Regions from separate parts of the Homo sapiens genome. Here regions 1, 2, 3, 4, 5 and 6 are each linked to region 7. The links are contacts of gene promoters, found by promoter capture Hi-C in blood cells and fetal thymus (Javierre and others, 2016). All regions are on one chromosome and are shown on one strand. Each heading gives the region's core, a stretch centred on a gene start or on the middle of the fragment in contact. The rest is flanking DNA. Distances are from core to core; before and after follow the strand shown. Region 1 overlaps FOXN2 (forkhead box N2). Region 2 overlaps FOXN2 (forkhead box N2). Region 3 has its middle 110 kb from the start of FOXN2. Region 4 has its middle 65 kb from the start of FOXN2. Region 5 has its middle 56 kb from the start of PPP1R21. Region 6 overlaps FOXN2 (forkhead box N2). Region 7 holds the start of FBXO11 (F-box protein 11).

Region 1 (3,271 bases), core at 1-2,500, 430 kb before region 7:
TAAAAATAAAAGTGGAGAGTTCAAACCAACCCAGTACAATCACTCTGGAACCCATCTAGAGCTTGACTGTGTGCCTGCCATGGCGGTATCTTGAGAAGAAGGCTTCGGATTTAAATGTACTATTTTTTTTTTCACAGTTGTGCAGCTCATGCATCTCCTAAGGTGTCTAACAGAGATTTGCACATCTGCATATTACGTTCAATGTTATAGTGATATCCTACTCTAGGATAAGAAATATAAAATTATGTATTGGAATTCTCTGATCATTTCCCAAAAGGTCATAGGAGAGCATTTTTGCTTAGGTTGGTATTAACATTGGTAAGAGAGAAATGCTTCAGAGACTACATAAGAAAAGGGAAACAAAGCCACAGAATTTTCAGCATTACCTAAAACATAATATGCTGCATTACAGAGAATTAGATGTGTCACAGTGATAGCCATTTTTGCCCAAAATAACTAAGAAACCTACTAAACACAAAATGTTGATTTAACCAATCAGAATTTTGACTTACTTTTCCACACTTTTAACTGATTAAAGACCGAGTTAACAAAAGGTTTTTTCTTTATACTTTTCCCAGATGTTAGAATCCTTAAACATTACTTAGCCTTCCACATTTAAACATCACATAAAATTAAATTATATGGAAGACATTCTGAGACTTGTTTTTTCCCCCATCGAATTCATTAACATTATTGTAGCAGTAATTCATTTTTACAGAGACTAGTATTCCATTTTATGAATATTCAATAATTTCTTATACTTTTAAGGAACATTTAATTGTTTATGTTTGGGGCTATTACAAGTACTACTGTTATAGAAGTCTTTGTTCATATCACCTGGTATACAAGTGTCAGAAATTTCTCTTGAGTATACATCTAAAAGTTGAACATATGTCAAGAAGTAGAATTATTTGGTCACAGAATAGCCTTCAACTTTAATTGATGACAAACTGCTTACCAAAAAATGCTGAATCAGTTACCACTAACCAGGAGTGTATATACCAAATGCTTCATGTACTTGCCAAAATTGTTTTTGCCAATCTGATGACTACTGTATTAGTCCGTTTCTACACTGCTAGAGGGACATATCCGAGACTGGGTAACTTATAATGGAAAGAGGTTTAATTGGCTCATAGTTTTGCATGGCTGGGGAGGCCTCAGGAAACTTACAATCATGGCAGAAGGGGAAGCAAAAATGTCCTTCTTCACATGGTGGCAGGAGAGAGAAGTGCTGAGCAAACTGGGGAAAAGCCCCTTATAAAACCACCAGATCTTGTGAGAACTCACTATCACAAGAACAGCTTGAAGGGACCACCCCCATGATCTAATCACCTCCCACAAGGCCCCTTCTCAACACTTGGGGATTACAATTCGGATTACAATTAAAGATGAGATCTGGGTGGGGACTCAGAGCCAGACCATATCAACTCTGAAACTGCATCTCCTTGCAGTTTTAATTTGCATTTCCCAGGCTAGTAACAGGGCAGAAGACCTTTTTATTCATTCATATATATCTGTATATGGATATATAGAATATGAATGTATAGATATATATGAACATATAGCTATGAATATATATCTATACATATGCCATTTGGATTTATTCTTCCATAAAGTATCTATTGAAGCCTTGTGCCCATTTTTTTATGGGTTTTCTTAATGATTTGTAATGTTTGGATACTAATAACTTATATGTGATGCAAATATCTTTCCCCAGTAGATGACTTGTCTTTTCAATCTCTTTATTGGTTGCTTTTAGTAAGAAATTTCTTTACTTTCATATGGTAGAATTTATTAACCCTTTTCTTTATGGTCTACAGTTTGTTTTATAATTTTTGCCTTTTACATTTAAATCTTCAACTCACCAAAAATGTATACATGTATTTTTTATCCAATTTCATCTTTCACATATAAACATAAAATTGTTCCAGCACCATTTATTAAAAATTTCAGGCCAGGCGCGGTGGCTCATGCCTGTAATCTCAGCACTTTGGGAGGCAGAGGCGGGCGGATCATGAGGTCAGGAGATTGAGACCATCCTGACTAGCACGGTGAAACCCCCTCTACTAAAAATACAGAAAATTAGCTGGGCCTGGTGGCGAGCGGCTGTGGTCCCGGCTGCTGGGGAGGCTGAGGCAGGAGAATGGCGTGAACCCAGGAGGCGGAGCTTGTAGTGAGCTGAGATCGCGCCACTGCACTCCAGCCTGGGCGACAGAGCAAGATTCCGAGATTCCGTCTCAAAAAAAAAAAAATGGCATCCTTCCTGTTAGGAGAACCTATCCACCATCAGTCCTTAGCATCCCTGCACACTCTCACCTGTTAAGAATGCAAGGCCTTTTATCTGGGCCATTTCTCAGTTTTTTGTTTGCTGCAAGCAAACCTGAGGTATGATTTAACATCTCCTACTAAAGAACAGGCCAACTTCCAGCATTTCTTCTCTGATCGATGAGATATCGAGAAAACTTTTTTTAGTTTCCATGTGATAAAGGAAGTTTTTTTGTGTTACCTATTTCTAACTTAACTGAGTTGGTATTATAACAGTGTATAGGGTATCAATTCTCTGAAATTTGTTGAAACTTGTTTCATGGCCCAGTACATGATTAATTTTCATAATGATTCATTTGATGTTTCTATGGTGCATGGATGAAATATATGTCCATTGGATGAAGCTTGTTAATCGCACTGTTTAAATTTTCTGTATTCCTACTAATCTTTTTTTGGGGTCTGCTTTCTATATCAAATACTAAGGCAGATATATTACAATCTCCTGCTATACTGGAAAAACTTTTCAATTTTTTCCTTGTACATCTGTTAATTTTTTGCTTTATTTTGTGGCTATGGTTATTAATTGCATGTAACTTTAAAACATATATATTCCTGCCAAATTAGCCATTTCCCATTATGTATCAATTCTTTTTGTCTTTAAGTCTATTTGAAATTATATACTAGCTTTCTTTCCATTAATATTAGTCAGGCAGCAGCCTAAGTGTCCATCAACGAAAGAAATGGATGTGGTGCATATACACACGAAAAAGAATGAGATCAGGCCAGGCGTGGTGGCTCACACCTGTAATCCCAGCACTTTGGGAGGCAGAGGTGGGCGGGTCATTTGAGATCAGGAGTTCAAAACCAGCCTGGCCAACATGGTGAAACCCCATCTGTACCAAAAAAAAACCCCACAAAAATTAGTGGGGCATGGTGGTGTGCACCTGTGGTCCCAGCTACTTTGGGAGGATGAGGCAAGAGAATTGCTTGAACCCGGGAAGTGGAG
Region 2 (3,276 bases), core at 222-2,721, 420 kb before region 7:
AAGTACAAAGGGAAAATTATACCCAAATCATACCACATCAAGTTTTGTTTTAACTAAACAAAGAAGTCATTTTAATCAAACTACATGAAACAAAAAAAAATTTGAAGGATGAAATATGATATTCATTAAAATATTTACTGGTCCAAGCACTTTGGGAGGCCAAGGCAGGCAAATCACTTGAGGTCAGGAGTTCGAGACCTGCCTGGCCAAAATGGCAAAACCCGTCTCTACTAAAAATACAAAAATTAGCCAGGCAAAGTGGTAGGTGCCTGTAATCCCAGCTACTTGGGAGGCTGGGGCAGGAGACTCACTTGAACCCAGGAGGAGGAGGTTGCAGTGAGCAAGATTGTGCCACTGTACTCCAGGCCTGGGAGACAGAGCGAAACTCTGTCACAAAAAAAAAAAAAAAAAATTACTGAGCAATTTGTCATTCACGTACAGAATACTATGCGTTATACTATGTTTTCCATTCTACTTTGTGACCTTTTCACTTTCTAAATTTCAGGTCTCTACTTAAGAGATAGTTGATGACATATGACAATAGTATAGCAAAAGAAAATTTTTAAAATATTATTTTAATTCCATCTGAACAGTATTTCAAAGTAGTAATTGAAGGAAGTCAACAGTAAATTCATTTGTATAAAAAGCACTACTAAATTGGATAGCCATATGCAGAAGAATGAAACTGGACCCATCTCTCACCATATACAAAAATTAGCTACAGAAAAGACTTAAATGTAAGACCTGAAACTATACTATAAAAATTCTAGAAGAAAACCGAGAAAAAACTCTTCTGAACATTGGCCTGAACAAGAATTTATGACTAAGAACTCAAAAGCAACTGCAACAAAACCAAAAACAGACAAATGAGACCTTAATCAGCTAAAAAGCTTCTGCACAGTAAAAGAAATAATCAATAAAGAGAACCCACATGTGGAATGGGAGAAAATATTTGCAAACTATACATGTGACAAACGACTAATATCCAGAACCTACAAGGCACTCAAACAACTCAACAAGAAAAACACAACTCTATCAAAAAGCGGGCAAAGAGCATGATCAGTAACTTTTCAAGACATAAAGGCAGCCAACCAACATGAAAAAAATGCTCAACATCACTAATCATCAGATAAATGCAAATTAAAACTACAATGAGATACCATCTTACACCAGTCAGAAGAGCTATTTAACAAAAAGACAAAAATTAACAATGCTGGCAAGGATGTGGAGAAAGGGGGAATGCGCATACACTGTTGGTGGGAATGTAAAGTAACAGCCATTATGAAAAACGGTATCGAGTTTCCTCAAAAACTAAAATCAGAACTACCATGACGTTTCAGGTGACAGATATTCTAATTATCTTAATTTGATCATTACACGTTGTAAACATGTACCAAAATATCACATGTACCCTCAAAAATATATCAGTTATAAAAAAAAAACAGAATATTTAAAAATATTGATACACCAATAAAAAACCTCCATCATGACTAAAGTCCACCTCATCCAATCCCTACACTTTGGGGAAAGTAAGCTCCTACTCTGTGTTCTCATAATACCCTTGAATGTATGTTTAGAAGAATATGTCTCATAATGCAATTATTTACTTACATGCATCTTATTCCTAGCACAGTATAAATGAAAGCATTCATACTTTTAAGAGATTGAATCCCACACAAAGTTACAACTAAAAAAAAAAAGAAACAATAAAATAACATCCCTATAAACAATAAAAGCAAGTCTGAAAGAGATGCTCAAAGAGATAAAAATGAACTCCTATTTCAAAGTAAACTTAAAAAAATTATGAGAAATACCTATATCAGATATATATATTGTATTATATATATCAAATATATCAGAAATATATATTGTATTATATATATATCAAATATATCAGAATTAGAAAAGCTCAGACATGAGGTGATAGAGCTCAAGAAAGAATTTAAAATAAAAGGGAAAAAATCATTTCAGAAATGAAGACTTAAAGGATTACGAAAAAAATGTATTGGATAAAATCTTAGAGAAACAGAAGGTGTAAAGAAAGCAAGCTTAATGAAAAAGAAAAAAAGGAGGGGGGAGTGCAAGAATCCGCGTGAGCGTGAGCATGAGCAAGAAAACAGGCTTAACTATAGCATCTAGGGACACATACTTGAGTAATAAAACCAAAAACTTAATTCATTTTCAGAAAACCCAGGACAGTGGTTACTTTTTAAAGGACAGGGTTACACAGGTGCTAGCCTTATAATTCACTAAGTTACACATTTGTTTTGTGTGGTTTTCTGCATTTGTTTCACTTTACAATTAAAAAAAAAAGAATTTAGGAAAATAAACTGCTGCTATTAATTTAAATCTACCTCTAGCCCAGGCACAGTGGCTCACACCTGTAATACCAGCACTTTGGGAGACCGGGGCAGGCAGATCACCTGAGGTCAGGAGTTCGAGACCAGCCTGGCCAACACGGTGAAACCCCATCTCTACTAAAAATACAAAAAAATTAGCTAGGCGTGGTGGCACATTCCTGTAGTCCCAGCTACTCCAGGGGCTGAGAAAGAATTGCTTGAACCTCGAAGGCGGAGATTGCAATAAGCCGAGATCACGCCACTGTGCTCCAGGCTGGGCAACAAAGCAAGACTCCATCTCAAAATAAAAAAGGAACTTACTTGCTATTCTAATTATGTATAATTATTTGCTTACAGTTCTATCTCAGCCACTAGACCTGTAGTTCTCACTTTCAATGTTATCCCACAATAAGAAATGTATTTTTTTCATAGAGACCCACAATATACATACATATTTAACTAAAACAAACATTTCATGAAATAATACTTTTACCCTTACCATGTATAATGTACTAAAATTTTTTTAGATTTTTTTTTAATAAAAGCTGGTCACAATTTCATGAAATAATACTTTTACCCTTACCACATAAAATGTACTAAATAATACTTTTACCCTTACCACATAAAATGTACTAAATAATACTTTTACCCTTACCACATAAAATGTACTAAAATTTTCATGAAATAATACTTTTACCCTTACCACATAAAATGTACTAAAATTTTTTTTTTGAGATGGAGTGTTGCTCTGTCGCCCAGGCTGGAGTGCAGTGGGGCAATCTCGGCTCACTGCAAGCTCTGCCTCCCGGGTTCAGGCCATTCTCCTGCCTCAGCCTCCCGAGTAGCTGGGACTACAGGCACTCGCCACCACGCCCGCCTAATTTTTTTTGTATTTTTAGTAGAGACGGGGTTTCACCGTGTTAGCCAGACGGTCTCG
Region 3 (3,823 bases), core at 917-3,416, 300 kb before region 7:
TTTTAGATAATGAAGCTGAAATGTCTGGGCTCTTCAAATTCAGGGACTGGAAGGAAACCTGGTGATGTGTTTATGTGGGCATTTTGTATTTAGTTTTGTAAAGAGGGTCCCCAAGTTGTCAAAGCTTCTCTCCAGTCTCATCTTATGATAATGTTCTCTCTCTCACACTCCCACCAGCCCAAGGTTCTCTGGAAAGTTGCCCATGACACTGTGTTGTTCAGCACCCAGGCATTTCTCCTGGGGGAAAGGATTTCCTCATCCTCCCATGTTCCCCAAAAGCTCACAATCTCCTCCTCCATGCTACCCTGTACTGTGAGTATACTGCCCAATTCCTGCTTACATCACAGATCTCTGTTTATATATCTGCCCCTACTGAACTGGGACCTCCCCTCACCCAGGTATTCAGCACAAAAGCAGTGCCTGTGGTAAAAAGGAGGAGTCAAAAAATTTTTTTTGTTAAACTAACCTGGAATGAAATGCCACTGCAGCCTCTTATAATTCATAGCATGTCTACAGCAAATGGTGACTAACTTGTGTCATGGAATAAGTAAAGCATTTAAAATATCTTATCTTAGAGAACATGATAATGAGAAGGTGGTGTTAGGTTGAGTGGCATGAAATTGCCAATATTTAACCATCATTGGTGTATTAAAAACAGCAATTTTATTTAGTTCTACCTAATAGATTTAAACCAGGTCAGTCTGACTCCAAGGTCAGTATTGTTTCCCATAGGGAGGAAGAGTTAATCCTGACTAGCTGAAGTAAAGTGATGGCAAGAGCCTGGGAGGGTGAAGTCTGGATGGGTAGCAGGGCACACCTGCAGGGTGATGCATCAGGACACTTAGCTGAGGGTGCAGATGTGCTGAGAGCCACAGCTGGAGCTTCAAGCAGGTAAACCCTGAAAGCTCACTGTTCATTGTGTGGGGAGAACATGTGATAATTCTTTTATTTCTATTTTTTCTATAGGTCATATTTTAACAACCATAGTCAAACTTATCAAAACATTTGTTTCTTTTTGTTTGTTTTTCTCCTCTTCAGTTAAAAATAATCCAGGCCAGGCGCGGTGACTCATGCCTGTAATCCCAGCACTTTGGGAGGCCGAGGCAGGTGGATCACCTAAGGTCAGGGGTTCGAGACCAGCCTGGCCAACATGACAAAACCCCGTCTCTACTAAAAATACAAAAATTTGCCGGGCATGGTGGTGGGCGCCTGTAATTCCAGCTACTCAGGAGGCTGAGGCAGGAGAATCGCTTGAACCCGGGAGGCAGAGTTTGCAGTGAGCAGGTATTGTGCCATTGCACTCCAGCCTGGCCAACAGGGTGAGACTCTGTCTCAAAAAAACACAACCAAAACCCACAGGGAAGGATTCCACTTTTTTTCTTTTCTTTTCTTTTCTTTTCTTTTTTTTTTTCAGAATGATGAGGGGAAAAAAAAGAAAAGAAAACAGAATCCATAAGGATAGTTTTCTCTATTACGACTTTTAATAACTCCTTGCTGGTCTCATAAATAGGAGAACTTGCTATAGTTATTTTACAAGATCGTATTTTAAGTAACAGCAGCTTTTACATGACACTTCTTGCATAATGATTTTTTAAAAGAGGAAATTGTTTTTATGTTTTGGGATAGCACTTAATTGCCAGGAACATAAGTTAAAAAAAAAAAAAAAAAAAAAAACGAAGGCAGAATTACTACTGAAGCCTGAAAAAAATAGAAAGCTTCCAGTCCCATTCCTGCAGTCCAAGGCAAAGTCATAATTAACATAATTTATAAAAAAGTTATCATCAAAGAAGGTTTGTCAACAAGCTCCAGCAGCCCAAATCATTGATCTAATGTAGCTAATAACCACTTTGCCATAACCACTCCTATTTACATGCAGAAAAAAAAATCGATACATTCACATGGGCCACACCACAGAACCTTCATCAACTCTGCAAAGGCATTTTGCACATTGCCTGAGGAAGGATTTTGAGTTGATTGTCTAGAGCAGAGTGTGAGAAAACAAGAAACTAAAATGGAAATCTGCAATTACAGCTCAGAATATCTCTAGGGAAGCCAAGCCATTTCAAAGCGCGGGTCAGCAGCACTGGATGACAAATGAGAATGGCAAAGTACTTCTGACCGCTAGCACCTCTCACAATGCACAGAATGACTTTCATTTTTCCCTGATCCCTTTCTTATCTCCCTTCCATCTCACCCCAAATGACCATCCAGACTAGGCATTGTTCATTTTACCTTCAGATACATGCATCCAGTAAACCTTCCATAAATAGAAGCACTCCCAGATCTCTGTCCTACTTGGCCATAGGAATGTCTTCCTATCACTGTCAGCCCCCAAACATATTTAAATGTAGCATATTTGAATGCGAAAGACCAAGTTAGGTAGCTGCCACTCCTGCCTCCACGCTGAACAGAAGCTGAGGCACCACAGATTTGGTCTTAAGAGGAAAGATTTCCTCTTTTCCCTTTGCTGTCAATCTAACTCTATCCACAATTTTTCCTCCTATTCCTTTGAAGACTCCCAGGTCCAGGCAAAATTCCATTTAGAGCTGAAGGGGAAATTTTGGTTTACAAACAAAATCCAAACTCTGATGACTGTAAGTGTTGGGCCCAAAGCTTGGCAGTGAATGGGCGACATATCAGTGAGGATAGCTAGATCTAAGATACTCAATTATGTATTTAAGGATTTTCGGGGTTTGCATCTTCCCAGTTAACTTTAGTGGTGCAACACTGTGGTGCAAGTGGCTGAGTCCTGGGTTGGGCATTAGAAGACATGGGCTGTAATCTTCTCTCTGCTGCTAAGTGCCATAGTGGTCTTGGCCCTGCCACTTTGTTCCCTAAACTTCTATTCTATGTTCCTAGGTGAGACTAAGTGAGGAGACCACCCCTCATATTGTCTTATGCCCAATTTCTGCCTCCAAAGAAAGAAAAAGTAAAAACTAAAAGGCAGAAATGAAATCCACAAGCAGACAGCCTAGCGCCACACCCTGGGCCTGGTAGTTAAAGATCGACCCCTGACCTAATCGGTTATGTTATCTATAGATTACAGACATTGTATAGAAAGGCACTGTGAAAATCCCTATCCTGTTTTGTTCCAATCTAATTACCGGCGCATGCAGCCCCCAGTCACGTACCCCCTGCTTGCTCAGTCGATCACGACCCTCTCACCCGCACCCCCTTAGAGTTGTGAGCCCTTAAAAGGACAGGAATTGCTCACTCGGGGAGCTCGGCTCTTGAGACAGGAGTCTTGCCGATGCCCCCAGCCAAATAAACCCCTTCCTTCTTTAACTTGGTGTTTGAGGACTTTTGTCAGCAGCTCGTCCTTCTGCAAGACTAGATCAGTAATTCTCAAGGAGTCTTCCCTCAGTGACACATCATGACACATTCCCATAACAGTCCCATGATCATATCAGAATTTGAGATTACTCTTTTGGAATGAGACAGTGTTTCTAGTTTTTGTTCTTTTCATTTCCTGTTTCTTTCTTTCCTTTTTTTTAACCTATGCCCTTATGGGTTAAAAAATTATTATTCTGATTAGAAGACCATAATATAAAGCAGGATGACTTAAGACCTTTCCAGTATTAACTTTCTCTGATTCTAAGCAGAAATAGTGGATTTTTAAATTCATGTGTTTGTTTCTGTATCTGGGTACATCCTAGCCTGCCTCCTAAAAAGTATTCAAATATTCGTTGAACAGAATTAAATTGGGTGACTTAAATGTCATTCCCTCTTTGGGGTCAGGGAAGGTCCCCCTCTTTTCTCTCTCTTCTTCACTGCCTTTTGTCTCCCTTCTCCTCCTGTTCCTTCCGTAGCCCAAGAGGTCTTG
Region 4 (3,402 bases), core at 903-3,402, 340 kb before region 7:
ATCTCCTAAAGCTATCCCTTCCCCCTCCCCCCAATTATTTTTAACTGTGTAGCTCAGTGGTATTAAGTACATTCACATTGTTGTGCAACCATCCACCACCAGAACACTTTTCATCTTGCAAAACTGAAACTCTGTACCTGTTAAGCAATAACTCTTCATTTCCCCCTTTCCCCAGCCCCTGGAAACTATGATTTAACTTTCTATCTATGATTTTGACTATAGGTACGTTTTATCAGTGGAATAATAAAATACGTGTCTTTTTGTGACTGGCATAATGTCTTCAAGGTTCATCCACTTGGTAGCATGTATCAGAATTTCATCCATTTTTAAGGCTGAATAATACTTCATTGTGTGTACATATTTTGCTTAAACGTTTATCTGTCAATGCACACAAGTTGTTTTCACTTTTTGGCTATTGTAAATAATATTGCTATGAACATGAGTGTGCCAATATATGTTCAAGTCCCTGCTTTTCTTTTCTTTCTTTCTTTTTTTTTTTTTTTTCTGAGACAGGGTCTCACTCTGTCACCCAGGACGAAGTGCAGTGGCATGATCTCAGTTCGCTGCAGCCTCGACCTCCTGGACTCAAGCAATCATCCTACCTCAGCCTCCCAAATAGCTGGGACTACAAGTGCATGCCACCACACCCGGCTAAAGTTTGTATTTTTTGTAGAGACAGGGTTTTGCCATGTTGCCCAGGCTGAAGTCCCTGCTTTCAATTCTTTTAGGTGTATATCAAGAATTAGAATAGCTTGACTATATGATAGTTCAATTTTTAATTTTTTGAGGAACTGCCATACTGTTTTCTATAGTGGCTGCACTATTTTACATTCCTACAACAGTGCACAAAGGCTACAATTTCTCCACGTCCTCACTAATAATTATTTTCTGTTTTTTCTTTTTTAAAAAAATAGCAGCCATGCTAATGTGTATCAGGTGGTACAGACTTCCTTTTAAAATCTAAGTACATCTGCAAATAGATGCAAGCCCTCAGCTATAGGTCATTAGCCTGAAAGGTAGCCAGCAGTCCTGAGATGAGCTTCTGGGATTTGTTCACCGGCTGCACTCCCTTTTCTCTGCTGGCTCCCTTGCTGGTTTCTAGCAGAGCCCCACAGACCACTATTGAGCAACTTCTGGGGTGTAAAGTCTCACAATCCCTGATGCCCAGCTGCTCAGCAGCATTAAATATACACTGTGAACTGTACTCTCCTCTCTTCTCCAGCAGCCCTGGTGCTTACTTTCTGTTAGTGTGTGGGGTTGCCTCTCCGTACTCATGGGTCCAACTCCTCCCTAAAATTCCATAGTTCACAGAAGGCAACTGAGGTTTACTTGCAGAAAAGAGATAGCATAAGGACAATTAAGCAGTCTGAGTGAGTTATAAAACAAAATAAAAAGAAAGTGAGGACAGGTTCTGAGGACTTCTTGTAGTGTGGGCTAACAAGGACAAGTGAAGGAACACCTGGCAGGCTCTTCCCGCAACTGCATACCCCAGCATATCAGCCCATCACCCGTGGAGTCCAACTCTGTTCTTAGGGAGCTTTGGTGTGGCCTTGGATTATTTCCTCCATATCACAGACAATTCTAAAAATATTTCCAAAAACTTCCTTATGTGCAGGATAATGGAAGGGAAGCTGTGATTTAAAAATGTTAATTTAACAATGAACTGTTTTGCTTGGCAAGTCAGTAAACCTCATCGTGTCTGTTTTCTCAGCTATAAAATGAAACTCTTGGACAAAATGTCTTAAGGACCCTGCCAGCTCTAAATAATTTTAATTCCAAAACTTTGGGGGACCAAAAAAAAAATCCTTTTACTTTTAGAAATGTTTATATATATATAGTTATATACTTTATCTTGGATATATTCAGCCCATAAATTTTTGAGTAGTCTAATGTTTAAATAAGTGAGTGGTTTTCTAAATATAACTTAGGCAGAGCAGTTCACTTGGGGTTATGCTGGCTGAATTTCAAGTAATCCACCAAGTGGATAATTCACATATGGTCAAGCATTAGAAGGCTCCAACCAGTCTTTAAAAGGCCTGAGAGTCAAAGCAATTCTATCTTATTCTGCACTGTATGGTGACCTGGTTAATACAGAGTAAACCTCTGAAAATGTAGGCTTGAATGTTTGTTGCTGTTTGTCGTCTGCCAGAAAATTGTAAATTTGCGTGTCTGCATTTGCAGAGAGGGCTGTGACTTCTCAGTCATTTGCCCTCTTAGCCATCAATTTTTCTCTTCTAAAAGCACAGCCAAAAATGTCACTGGATTAACTGTAAATATGAAAAGCTGCCTCAGAAGCAAATATAATACCAAGTGCTCAGTGGTACTCAAAGGATAAATTTCCCACGTTTCACTCCCTTTTATTCATTTACTCACTGTCAAATTCACATTGCAAACAGTGTAAAAAGAGACAAAATTCAGAATTGTCATCAGCTCCCAGAGGATCACCAGGATTGAAAGGTAAAAAGCCTGTTATTGCTATGGGCCAGGAGCTGTTTTAATGGCTTTCCCAGCCTGTTGAGAGTCATTTCAGGATGCTGAGTCAAAGAGAGTGAAACTTGGAGTGACCCAGCTGTTAGTCTCTGGCATACCTTTTAACTGATGTCACCAGGCATTTCTTAGAGAGTAGAGTAAGCCACTGTTCTTCTGCCAGTCATGTTCATTTTTGTCAGTTTTTTAAGTAAAAATATTACTTTATAGAAAATAATCCTTAATAGCTACTCATTCAGTCATTCTATATTCTGGATAAACTTTAAAAATAAAGTTAAACATGCTGCCCATGACTTGATGTGTGTTTTTTGTTTGTTTGTTTCTGTTTGTTTGTTTTGTTTTGTATTTGAGACAAGGTCTCACTCTGTCACCCAGGCTAGAGTGCAGTGGCATGATCTTGGCTCACTGCAAATTCCGCCTCCAGGGTTCAAGTGATTCTCCCACCTCAGCCTCCGAGTAGCTGGGACTACAGGCACATGCCACCACACCCAGCTAATTTTCGTATTTTTAGTAGAGACAGGGGTTTCACCATGTTGCTCAGGTTGGTCTTGAACTCCTGTCCTCAAGTGACCCACTTGCCTCGACCACCCAAAGTGCTGGGATTACAGGTGTGAGCCATCGTGCCCAGGCTGATGTGTAATTTTTTTAAATGTGCCAGTAGTTAGTACAAACAGAAGAGAATCTCCTAGATAGTTCTCCATTTTTAAACCACTTAACACTCATTTTAGTAGCATTCAGTGTATAGGATAGATACAAATAAAATGAATTACTTTAATGATTCTAAAATAGGTTTGCAGTTTCTGTTTGAAAATTTTTATTATCAATTGTATCAGTTCAGGAAACAAACCACTCTGCTATTAAAATAGGCAGAAGAGCATTTAAAATAGGGAATTGGGTGCTTTCAAAATTGCTGGG
Region 5 (3,472 bases), core at 466-2,965, 480 kb before region 7:
TGTGCTTCCAAATCCTCCTGTTCATTTAATTTCACTTTTCCCCATTCCCACATATGGCACAATCAGGAGCTGTGCTATGCGCTCTCCTGGCTCTGCTTTCCAGGGAACAGAAGTAGATATCACAATTTGAATTTCCCCATTGTAATCTGAATAAATGACTCCTGTATGTATTTGTACTCCTTTTAAATTCAAACTAGACCTTCCTAGAAGTAATCCTATCGTCCCCACTGGCAAGGGTCCACAGACTCCTGGTGGGACCTTTTGTGGGGGTTCCCCAGGCAGAAGGCTCACTGCTTTTGTGTAGCATAAATCTACTGCAGCACTACCGGCTGTGTCAGGGGACAGACATTGTACAGGGGTGAGGAAATGGCCTGAGCCGGAAATGCCCCGGTTTGGAACAGGGCATGGGACGGGCCCCTCATGGCATTTCCCAAAATCAGGTTCCCTTCTTTATCAAACTTAGAATGACACTGACTAGCCCAATGTTTTCCTTTTTTACATTTTGGACATATTTCAGGCTCAGCAGTTTTCTTTTTTCCCCTATCTGGTGGCCTGACTTGCTGATTTTTTCTACATTCTTTTTTAGCATGACCATGCTTCCCACAGTTAAAACAAGCTCCAGGAAATGGAGTATTTCCTTTGTCCACTCTCAGTCCTGCCATTGCCTGGGCTAGCAGAGTGGCCTTATGCAGATTACCTCCGCTACCGTCACAGGCCTTGATATAATCAACTAAATGTGCTTTCCGTCTAATAGGTCACACAGCAGCCTGGCAATCAGGATTAGCATTGTCGAAAGCTAATAACCGCAACACTATATCCTGAGCAGCCAAATCTACAATCACCTTTTTTTTATTTTATTTTTTTGAGACGGAGTCTCACTCTGTTCCCCAGGCTGGAGTGCAGTGGCATGATCCCAGCTCACTGCAAGCTCCTGGTTTCACACCATTCTCCTGTCTCAGCCTCCCCAGTAGCTGGGACTACAGGCGCCTGCCACCACATCCGGCTAATTTTTTTGGATTTTTAGTAGAGATGGGCTTTCACCATGTTAGCCAGGATGGTCTTGATCTCCTGACCTCGTGATCCGCCCATCTCGGCCTCCCAAAGTGCTGGGATTAGGGGCGTGAGCCACTGAGCCCCCATGCTGCCTGCAATCACCTTTTTAAGAGACTCCTGTAACCGAGCTAATTTAAAAGGAAAAGGCTCAAATGTAGCTTTAATATTTCCCTGTTGATCTGGGGGGTGTATTCTAACAGGGAACTGCCAAACCTCTAAATCACCCTCTCTTCTAGCTTGCTGGATTCCTGCCTGAGTAGAACTGAGAGTGGTCGCTCAAGGTGCTGCTCGAACAGTCACTGGGGCAACTACTTTTCGCCCAGTGTCCTCTGGAAAAGAAAGATCTGGAGGGTCAGGCCACTCTTTTTCTTCAAAATAAGGAGGGGGTGCAGAAGGGTAGGGATGAACCTCTCCCTCCTTTGCCACTTTAGCTTTAGCTGGCAAACAAACCTGCTCTGTTACTTCGTTATACTCTCCTTCCTCCTCATCATCAGTGTGAAAAGGTTCCAAGGTGGAACGAACCAGAGCCCACACTTGTCCCATTGTTACCCTGATGCTTCCGAGCTCCCCTTGATGCTTCCGAGCTCCCCTTCTTACTCACCACAGGAATTGCTTTAAGAGTACTCGAGTGTCCTCCAGCTTAGTTTCACGTTCTCCAACTGTCGCTCTGGCGACCCTTCAACCTGGGTTCGAGCCCTACGTATGGGCGCCACTTGCCGAGACCAGCTCAGTCAGGGAGACCCTAACCCAGCAGCACTAGAGGAATTAAAGACACACACACAGAAATATAGCATGTGGAGTGGGAAATCAGGGGTCTCACAGCCTTCAGAGCTGAGAGCCCCAAACAAAGATTTGCCCACATATTTATTGACAGCAAGCCAGTGATAAGCATTGTTTCTATAGATTAACTAAAAGCATTTCTTAGGGGAAATAAAGGGATGGGCCAAAACAAAGGGATGGGTCTGGCTAGTTATCTGCAGCAGGAACATGTCCTTAAGGCACAGATCGCTCATTCTGTTCTTTGCGGTTCAGGAACTCCTTTAAGTGGTTTTGTGCCCTGGATGGGCCAGGTGTTCCTTGCCCTCATTCCAGTAAACCCACAACCTTCAGTGTGGGCGTCATGGCCATCACGAACATGTCACAGTGCTGCAGAGATTTTGTTTATGGCCAGTTTTGGGGGCCTGTTCCCAACATTCTTCTTCTTGCCTCTGTTGATATGATGAATTATAATGATGATTTTTAGTATTGAACCAACTTGCACTCCTAGGGCCGGCCCCATTGGTTATTGTCTCTTTTTTACACTACTGAATTTTATTTGATGATATTTTGTTAAGAATTTTTGTGTCTATATTCTTGACGAATATTGGTCTGTAGTTTTTTGGTAATGTCTTTTTTTTTTCCTGTGAGACTGTCTCACTCTATCACCCAGGCTAGAGTGCAGTGGTGTGATCTCGGCTCACTGCAGCCTCTGCCTCCCAGGTTCAAATGATTCTCCTGCCTCAGCCTCCCAAGTACCTAGGATTACAGGCACGTGCCACCACTCCCGGCTAATATTTGTATTTTTAGTAGAGACGGGGTTTCGCCATATTTGTCAGGCTAGTCTTGAACTCCTGACCTCAAGTAATCCACCCACCTCGACCTCCCAAAGTGCTGGGATCACAGGCATGAGCCACTGCACCCAGCAGGTAATGTCTTTACTCAGTTTTAATATTAGGTTAATGCTAAACCTATAGCCTCATAAAGCAAGTTATGAAATATTTTCTTGTCTTCTTTTTTTTTATTGCTTTTAAGGAGTTTGGGTATAATGGTATTATTTCTTCCTTAAATAATAAATGTAATTCATGTGAAGCCATGTGAACTTGGAGTTTGCTTTCAGTTTTTTTTTTTTTTTACTGGACTTTTTAAAGAGTCATTTTAGAGTTAAAAAAATTGAGCAAATAATACAGATACTTTCCATATACCCTCTGCCCTGCACAGTTTTCCCTGCTGCTAACCTCTTATACTAGTATGATACATTTGTTACAATTAATGAACTGCTATTGATACATTATTATTAACACAAGTTTATATTTTATTTAGGTATTCTTAGTTTTTAAACTAATACCATTTTTTCTATTCCAGGACCCCATTCAGGATGCATCCCATTAAGTTGCTGTGTCTCTTTAGGGTCCTTTTGGTTATGAAAGTTTCTCAGACTCTGATTGTTTTCAGTGATCTTGACAGCTTTGAGGAATACTGGTCAGGCTTGTTGTAGGATGCCAAACTACTAGAATTTGTCTGATTTCTTTTTAAAAATTAGGCTATGAGTTTTGGGAGGCAGATCACAGAGGGAAAGTCCATTTCTATATAATATCAAGAACACGTGCTATCAACGTCAGTCATGATTGCTGATGTTGACCTAGCATGCCTGACTGAAGTA
Region 6 (3,303 bases), core at 798-3,297, 450 kb before region 7:
TCTCCATGTTGTCCAGGCTTAATCTTCAGCAAAAAAAAAAAAAAACCCAACACAGCTAAGTAAAACACATAGGTGAACATCAGTAGAACTCACCATTAGTTTCTAAATTATTATTTAAAATGCCTCATAATAACCAAAATTAATTAATAAAGATATCAATTTCCAAGTAAGAATATAAAATCTGGTAACTTCTTTTCTAGGTTTCATTTCATAAAGATAAACCACTCAGTTATTCTTTTTATAATGATCCATCTAATCTATAATATGGTAAAGAAGCTTAAAATCTCAGTGAGTGAATATATTACTGATATTTCAACTTTAGCCTTCCCAGCTATTTACTGTATTCCAGCTACAACCACTCCTCTACAAGTTATCTAACAATACTTTAAGAATTCAAATTAACCACTATATGAAACGTTGATGATTGCTGCAGCTGGGAGTTCATTATAACTTTCTCTCTACTTTTTTCCATGTTTAAAAATTTCCATTTATTACTTTATTAAAAATCTTTTTAAATTTTTCAAAAAACAAGTTAGCCATTATAAACTACCCTTAAAGTATTTTAACCAAATCTGGGATTTTCAATTCAAATGAAGGTATATAATAAATTGGAGAAGACTCTAAAGTCTTCTTTAGAAAAAGGAAACAAAAATCAGATTTAAGAAGGTCATATTATTTTCCGATTTAACTTAAAATGAGGAAGCTAGAAGATCAACAGGGGTTACTGGGATTGAAAACAAAGACAAGGAAAATTATAAGCAAATACAGTACAACTATATTTACCAGAAAAAATAAAAACAAAGTTCAAAGCATTATTTTATTTGCCAAACATTTAAAAATTTTAGACTTGAACATACTTTTCAAATATTAAGTACTACGAAAAAAACCTAAAACAGAAAAAGAAACCTACATATGTATATAAAATGTTATAATGACAAACTTAATAATCTTGTTAAAAAATTTTAAATGTATTTTTAATTTCCTTCATTTTTAGGTTAGCATTAGTATTGCAGACAATTAAAATGATCTGACCTGTTTGTAACTGAAATTATATTACAACTTTCTTTAGGGTTTACTTATACTCAGTATTGACTATATTTCCCAGAGTGTATGTTCTCAAGTCACCAATTTCCTGTATTCTAGAAACACAAATTAGACCATAAGGAAAACTAACTTAGGCTAATGTCTTATCCATAAATACTTCTTAAAAAAAGAAAAGAAAAGAAAAGAAAAGAAAAAACAGGCCGAGGATGGTGGCTCACGCCTGTAATCCCAGCACTTTGGGAGGCAGAGGTGGGAGGATCACTTGAAGTCAGGAGTTAGAGACCACCCAGGCCAACATGGTGAAACCGTGTCTCTACTAAAAAGACAAAGATTAGCTGGGAGTGGTGGTGCTTGCCTGTAGTCCTAGCTACTAGGGAGGCCGAGGTGGGAGGATCACCTGAACCCAGGAGAGGGAGGTTGCAGTGAGCCGAGATCTCGCTACTGCACTCCAGCCTAGGTGACAGAGTAAGACTGTGTCCACAAAACAAAACAAAAACAAAAACTAAAAACTAAAAACTAAATAAAACATAAATACTTCTTTATACAATAAAACAGAAACATAATACCCTGGACCTTTAAGTTTCTCCATCTCACACAGTGAAATCCTATAAATCACCACTGACAGTTATATGGAAGATCCTTACTTTTGTGAAGATGCTGAAGAAAAAGGTTGCTTCTTCAGTGCCTGGATAAGATTGGGTTTATATTCCGGATCAACACACCATAAGGAACCTTTTCCATTAACCTAGAATAAAATGCACAAGAATAACTAGGAACTTTTATACATAAACAGTCAGCGTCTAAATGTTTTAAATAAATGTGCAGGGGTAAATAATCTCTAGCACCTTTTGAGTATGAAACTAAGGTTGAAGTGAGCTTGCTATGTGTGCACTGTAGTGACTAAAAGGGATTCATCCTATGATGTACAAAACTTCCTCTAATTCACAAGATTAGTGAGGTTCAAATGTTATTAGCTTCTGGTTTTATATTATGCCTTTTCTACTTCAAAAACTCTTTCTTAAAATTTGAATTACCTTTACGACTACATTAACAATTATTTAGATAACAACAAAATTTACTTGTTTCCCATTCTCATACTCCTTTTTGCGTGTATCAAATCTTCTATGATATAAGCTATTATGATTGCTATTAAGATTTAATGTGATGATCTCCAGAGTCCTTCCATTTCCCACACTCTTTTTCAAGGTACTACTAGTCTATTATTGACGCTCTTTTATCTCTGAATATCATTTCATAATTTTTATAGCAGAATGGCAAAATGAAAGAACACCGTTCTATAGGTTCAAAAACCAAGGTCCCGATCACTACTTATTGACTGGCTATGTGATATTGGGCAAATCATTTAATTTTTGAGAGTCAGACTTCTCATTTACATTTTACCCGTAAAGTAAAACAACAATGCAGGCCACTTCACTGAATTGTAATGAGATTCAAATAAGAGGATTTATATGCAAGAGACATAGCTGCAAAATAGGTGAATATTAAGGGGCCATTCTGAAACTGACGTACGTAAGGGTTGCTGCATGTTGGTTGAATAATAGTATGTTCCTACTCCTTTACTTTCCACCGAGGAGGGAATTTTGAAAAAAAAACGACAATAAGAAAAAAATACATTAGTTCTGAATAAAAGGCAAAAGTTAGGTGGTAAAAAAAAACGGGATAAAATTAATTTAGGAGAGAATAAAACCTTTTGCCTGTGAAAAGGTGTAGCAATTGAGTGTAAGGCAGTTTTTTACTATGCTGGCAATTTATATAAATAGAAAAACCATGGTTGTCATATCACACTATCATAAAGAAAGAAATGCACTGGATTATCAGGAGAAACATTTTCCTGGTGTTTAGCAGCAAGATATCACATTAACTATACTAAAAAAGTATTTGACATTTTCTTTTTTTTTTTTTTTTTTTCAATAAAAGACAAGTTTTACAAATGTATTTTTGGATTAAATGAAACTTCTTAACTTAGCTATATGTTCAGTCACCTGGACCAAATGATAAATGTGTTTTGATGACAAGGAAAAAAATGTTAGCACCAGGCCAGGTGCGGTGGCTCACGTCTGTAATCCTAGCACTTTGGGAAGCCGGCGAAGGTGATTGCTTGTGCTCAGGAGTTCAAGAGCAGCTTAAGCAACATAGCAAAACTCTGTCTCTACAAAAATAGAAAAAATTAGCCTGGTGTGGTGGTGCGCGCCTATAGTCTCAGCTATTCAGGAGGCTGAGGCCAGCCTGGGTGACAGA
Region 7 (3,515 bases), core at 1,016-3,515:
CAAATGGCTCATGTATGGATTTCAGCAAAAGAAATCAGCCTCAAAAGTACAGAAATGACCAGTTTTATGAGTAATAAATGATAAACGACAGTGGCTGCCATCAGACAATACTAGCCACTCCACGCCAGAAGACAACATAAGGACTGGCATTAGTGGCTTAGATGCCCTTGTAAACCTCCCTATTCCTCAGGGATGCTACCACCCTACCAGTTACTCTGTGAATTTGAAAAAGGTGCTTCCTTTCTCAAGACACTTTACTACCATCTATCAGGAAATTGTCATAATATACTAATTTTGCTAAAACAAGGCATTTTACTGCCATATGTCAGAGAATTGTTGCAATAAACTTAGAAATCTAGGGTATGTAAAAGATACCCCTTATACCACATATAACAACCCTAAACCCCGCCCCTCCCATTAATATATTAGAAGGAGAGTTGGGGAAATAAAAGGTGAAAGCAGTTATGTTTTTTAAAAAATTGAGATGATGTGGGGACTTGAAGTTAAAATTACAGAAAATAAACAAGCTACATTTTCTTTACATCTGAATTAATGTAAGTAAAACTTCCACTCTGCCACACCAAAATACAAACTCTTTATGCCCAATATTTTCCTTTTATTAGTATTTCCCATAACACCTTATATACATATTAATGCATACACGGAAGGAGCCAAAAAGTACTTGTCAAATAAAAAAGTAAATTTTTAGAAAAATCAGAAATGATGGACACACTTATATGTATAACGTAATTTTCCTGTACTTTTACTTTTCCCCTATGTTTATTTGAACAAACCTAAAATTGTACCCATTTGCACCTAGCTAACCACCATAAAAATTTGGAGTTCTCCAGCTGTTTTGTAACAGCTGTCCTCCTCAAATATTTTTTTGAGAAACAAACATAGACCTACGTTTCTCTATTTTTCTGGACTAAAGAGAGATCATCTCAAAATCACAGAACTCTTAAAAATTGAAAACAGGATCATGTAGTCTAAAATAAGTTCTTATTTAAACTTGGGAGGTGAGGGGGGCGGGGCTGACATCTAGAAAGGTGAAGTACTTTGCCTGTAGTCACACACCAAGTCTGGGACTCAACACACAGGCTCGCCTCTTTGCGTCTCTCCCTCCTTCCAAAATACATTTTCCTCCCTCTCAAAAGCTTTATCACGCTTTGTAGTTGCTTAATTATCTATGTCAAACCTAGAGAGCAACTGATGACACTCAGAGACATCGCCCAAAGTTCTGAAAACCAGATAATCAGATAAACTGCCAGTTTTACCACATCCAAAAAATGCACAACAAAAGAGAGAAGGGGGAGAATCGAGAATACATTTTCAGCCGCAAGGCAATAAAAACACGTTTCCCTTGGAGAGAGATTATGTTGGGGGCATCAGGTATAAAGGTAATTCCTGTTGAGGGTTTTTCTTTTCCTTGCAGTTTGTGGGACCTAAAAAAAAAAAATTAAAAATTAAATCACATAAACAATCACAACATCAACACATTTACTTCTCTCCTCTCACATATTATTTTCCCACACATTGTATACACTTCTTCAAAGAACAAATCAAATTGGCCAAAGGTCAAAGCCTTTTCAAGGTTTAGATGATATACGATTAGGCACCGACTCCAAACTTCGCTTACCAAGCCCAAAGCTCGGAGACGGAAATCTTCAGGGTTTGCAAATACCCTCAGCTTGGCTAAAGGGCACGAAATCTCTAGCGCTCCCTACAGCTCAGATTTTGAACCCACCTACCACAGAAAACCCGAGTTACCAAAGATTGGCTCCCTCGTTCCACTTTTTTTTCAGCTCAAAAAAATCGGGTGAAGGTTGGGGTAGGGGGGAAGCTGAAACGGCGAACCGAAGGATTAATCACTTCTCCCCATTACATCAGCAACCCCCGCCCTTTCCTCCGAGCACCTCCTCTCCCAGAATCGTCGCTACGCACTGGCGCTCTCTTCGCCCACCCCCTGCTCTATTATTTGCCCTGATACCTCCCCATTATCACCCGCCCCGCCACACTCCCCCTTTCCTCTTTCCCCCTCCTAGGCGGGGGAGGGAGGAAACCCGAGAGAGGAAACAGGGCGTTGAAGGGACTTCGCGATAAGAGCGGAGGCCCCATTGGCCGGAAGGTTGTACGGGCGCCTTAGATTGGCCGCCTGGACGGAATCCCCGCCCCTCCTTTCCCCGCCCACCCACCCCTCCCCCCGCCGCCCCGCGGCCCTCCCCCGCGCCCCCGGCCAGCCCCGCGGCGGGGAGGGACCGACTGGGCGAGTGGAGGCTCCGGCGGTGTCAATGGCTCCTCCTGCCACGGAGCAGCAGCAGAAGCAGCGGCGACAGGGCTGACGAGGAGGAGGAGGAAAGGTTCCTTTAAGGAGGAGGAAGGACGACGCCTCTTTTTCCCCCTATCTCCTCCCTTCACACTCATTTCCCCTTCGCCGAGGAGAGAAGGGGGGGAGGAGAGAGAAGAGACCGAAGAAAGAGAGAAAAATTCCTCACAGAAATCTCTTTCAGGGGGTGTGGGGGGGAGGAAGAGGGAAAAAAAAGAGCCGGGCGCCCCCTGCTCCCTCCCTCCCTTCTCTCCCTCTCTTTTTCTCCCTTCCTCACCCGCCCGCCCACTCCCCCCGCTGCCGGAGACGCCGCTCGCGAGTCGGCGGGACCGGGATCTGTCTCTTCAGCCGCCGCCGCCGCCGCCGCCGCGCTTCGCCTCGGGATCCCCAAGCGGCGGACGCCCTTTCTTTCTTTCTCTCGGTCTGCCCGTCTTTCTGCCTTCGTCCCTCGCGGCCGCCCCGCCCGGCGGCTTCGGCCTTCCCCGTGCGTCAGGCCCTCCCGGCCGGCCTCGCTCGGTCTCCGTCTGTCTACCCGGGCCTTTCTCCGGACTCGGGGTCCCGCTCGCCCCCTCCGCCCTCAGCGTCTCCCCTTCCCCTCGCCCCCTCTCCTTCCTCCCCCCTCTCCCACTCTCCCCACCCCTTTCTCCTGCCCCGAAGCTCGCTGTGCGTGTGCGTGTGTGTGTCCCTCCGCCAACGCCGCCACCTCAGCCCGGCAAATGAACTCCGTCCGAGCCGCCAACCGGAGACCCAGGCGAGTGTCGCGGCCGCGCCCGGTGCAGCAACAGCAGCAGCAGCCCCCGCAGCAGCCGCCGCCGCAGCCGCCCCAGCAGCAGCCGCCCCAGCAGCAGCCTCCGCCGCCGCCGCAGCAGCAGCAGCAGCAGCAGCCTCCGCCGCCGCCACCGCCGCCTCCGCCGCTGCCTCAGGAGCGGAACAACGTCGGCGAGCGGGGTAAGGCCGCGCTACCTCCCAACCGCCCGCCTTCCCGGGCACCGCGGGAAGGGAGGCCGGGGCGGGCGGGCGGGCGGGCGGGCGGGGGCGGCCTGCGCGCCCTGGGGGTGGGAGACCCAAGCTGAGCGGAGGCGGGTCCCCCGGTGCCGCAGTGTCAGCCCGGGCCGGGCCCGGCCGGCAGGAAAAGCCGCGGCTTCCCTTCTCGCCTGGGCTCTCGCTCAGGCCGCGCTTTGTTTGGTTT

What was found. The method cuts DNA at HindIII sites, captures the fragments that hold promoters and counts their contacts. A CHiCAGO score of 5 or more calls a contact.
Region 1: a fragment that was not itself captured here is called in contact with the fragment with the promoter of FBXO11 in region 7 in 16 of 17 cell types (activated CD4 T cells, naive CD4 T cells, total CD4 T cells and 13 more); the score reaches 18.9 in activated CD4 T cells.
Region 2: a fragment that was not itself captured here is called in contact with the fragment with the promoter of FBXO11 in region 7 in 15 of 17 cell types (total CD4 T cells, activated CD4 T cells, total CD8 T cells and 12 more); the score reaches 19.0 in total CD4 T cells.
Region 3: a fragment that was not itself captured here is called in contact with the fragment with the promoter of FBXO11 in region 7 in 2 of 17 cell types (M1 macrophages and M0 macrophages); the score reaches 5.9 in M1 macrophages.
Region 4: a fragment that was not itself captured here is called in contact with the fragment with the promoter of FBXO11 in region 7 in 3 of 17 cell types (monocytes, neutrophils and M2 macrophages); the score reaches 5.2 in monocytes.
Region 5: a fragment that was not itself captured here is called in contact with the fragment with the promoter of FBXO11 in region 7 in 4 of 17 cell types (naive CD8 T cells, total CD4 T cells, M2 macrophages and 1 more); the score reaches 5.7 in naive CD8 T cells.
Region 6: a contact is called between a fragment that was not itself captured here and the fragment with the promoter of FBXO11 in region 7, in 14 of 17 cell types (naive CD4 T cells, naive CD8 T cells, total CD8 T cells and 11 more). The highest score is 16.3, in naive CD4 T cells.

Annotation. Positions count from the first base shown.
Region 1 is chr2:48,337,380-48,340,650 of GRCh38, reverse strand. All of the region lies in intron 2 of FOXN2 (forkhead box N2), which reads right to left. Among named protein-coding and RNA genes, the nearest start is that of FOXN2, 24 kb to the right of the region's middle. The HindIII fragment of the contact is 2,843 bases long and covers 1-2,671 here.
Region 2 is chr2:48,321,331-48,324,606 of GRCh38, reverse strand. All of the region lies in intron 1 of FOXN2 (forkhead box N2), which reads right to left. Among named protein-coding and RNA genes, the nearest start is that of FOXN2, 8.3 kb to the right of the region's middle. The HindIII fragment of the contact is 1,158 bases long and covers 893-2,050 here.
Region 3 is chr2:48,205,808-48,209,630 of GRCh38, reverse strand. No RefSeq gene overlaps it. Among named protein-coding and RNA genes, the nearest start is that of FOXN2, 110 kb to the left of the region's middle. The HindIII fragment of the contact is 898 bases long and covers 1,718-2,615 here.
Region 4 is chr2:48,247,898-48,251,299 of GRCh38, reverse strand. No RefSeq gene overlaps it. Among named protein-coding and RNA genes, the nearest start is that of FOXN2, 65 kb to the left of the region's middle. The HindIII fragment of the contact is 6,486 bases long and covers 1-3,402 here.
Region 5 is chr2:48,383,315-48,386,786 of GRCh38, reverse strand. No RefSeq gene overlaps it. Among named protein-coding and RNA genes, the nearest start is that of PPP1R21, 56 kb to the left of the region's middle. The HindIII fragment of the contact is 6,804 bases long and covers 1-3,472 here.
Region 6 is chr2:48,357,533-48,360,835 of GRCh38, reverse strand. FOXN2 (forkhead box N2) reads right to left here. Exons shown (of 7, transcript NM_002158.4): 4 at 1,689-1,789. Among named protein-coding and RNA genes, the nearest start is that of FOXN2, 45 kb to the right of the region's middle. The HindIII fragment of the contact is 3,537 bases long and covers 279-3,303 here.
Region 7 is chr2:47,905,248-47,908,762 of GRCh38, reverse strand. FBXO11 (F-box protein 11) reads left to right here and starts at 2,265. Exons shown (of 23, transcript NM_001190274.2): 1 at 2,265-3,274. The coding sequence starts at 3,043. LOC100506235 (a long non-coding RNA gene) reads right to left here and starts at 3,213. Exons shown (of 2, transcript NR_187636.1): 1 at 2,964-3,213; 2 at 596-1,445. RefSeq lists an enhancer at 1,319-2,103 and silencers at 2,173-2,272, 2,763-2,952, 3,313-3,432, 3,443-3,492. The HindIII fragment of the contact is 3,894 bases long and covers 1,160-3,515 here.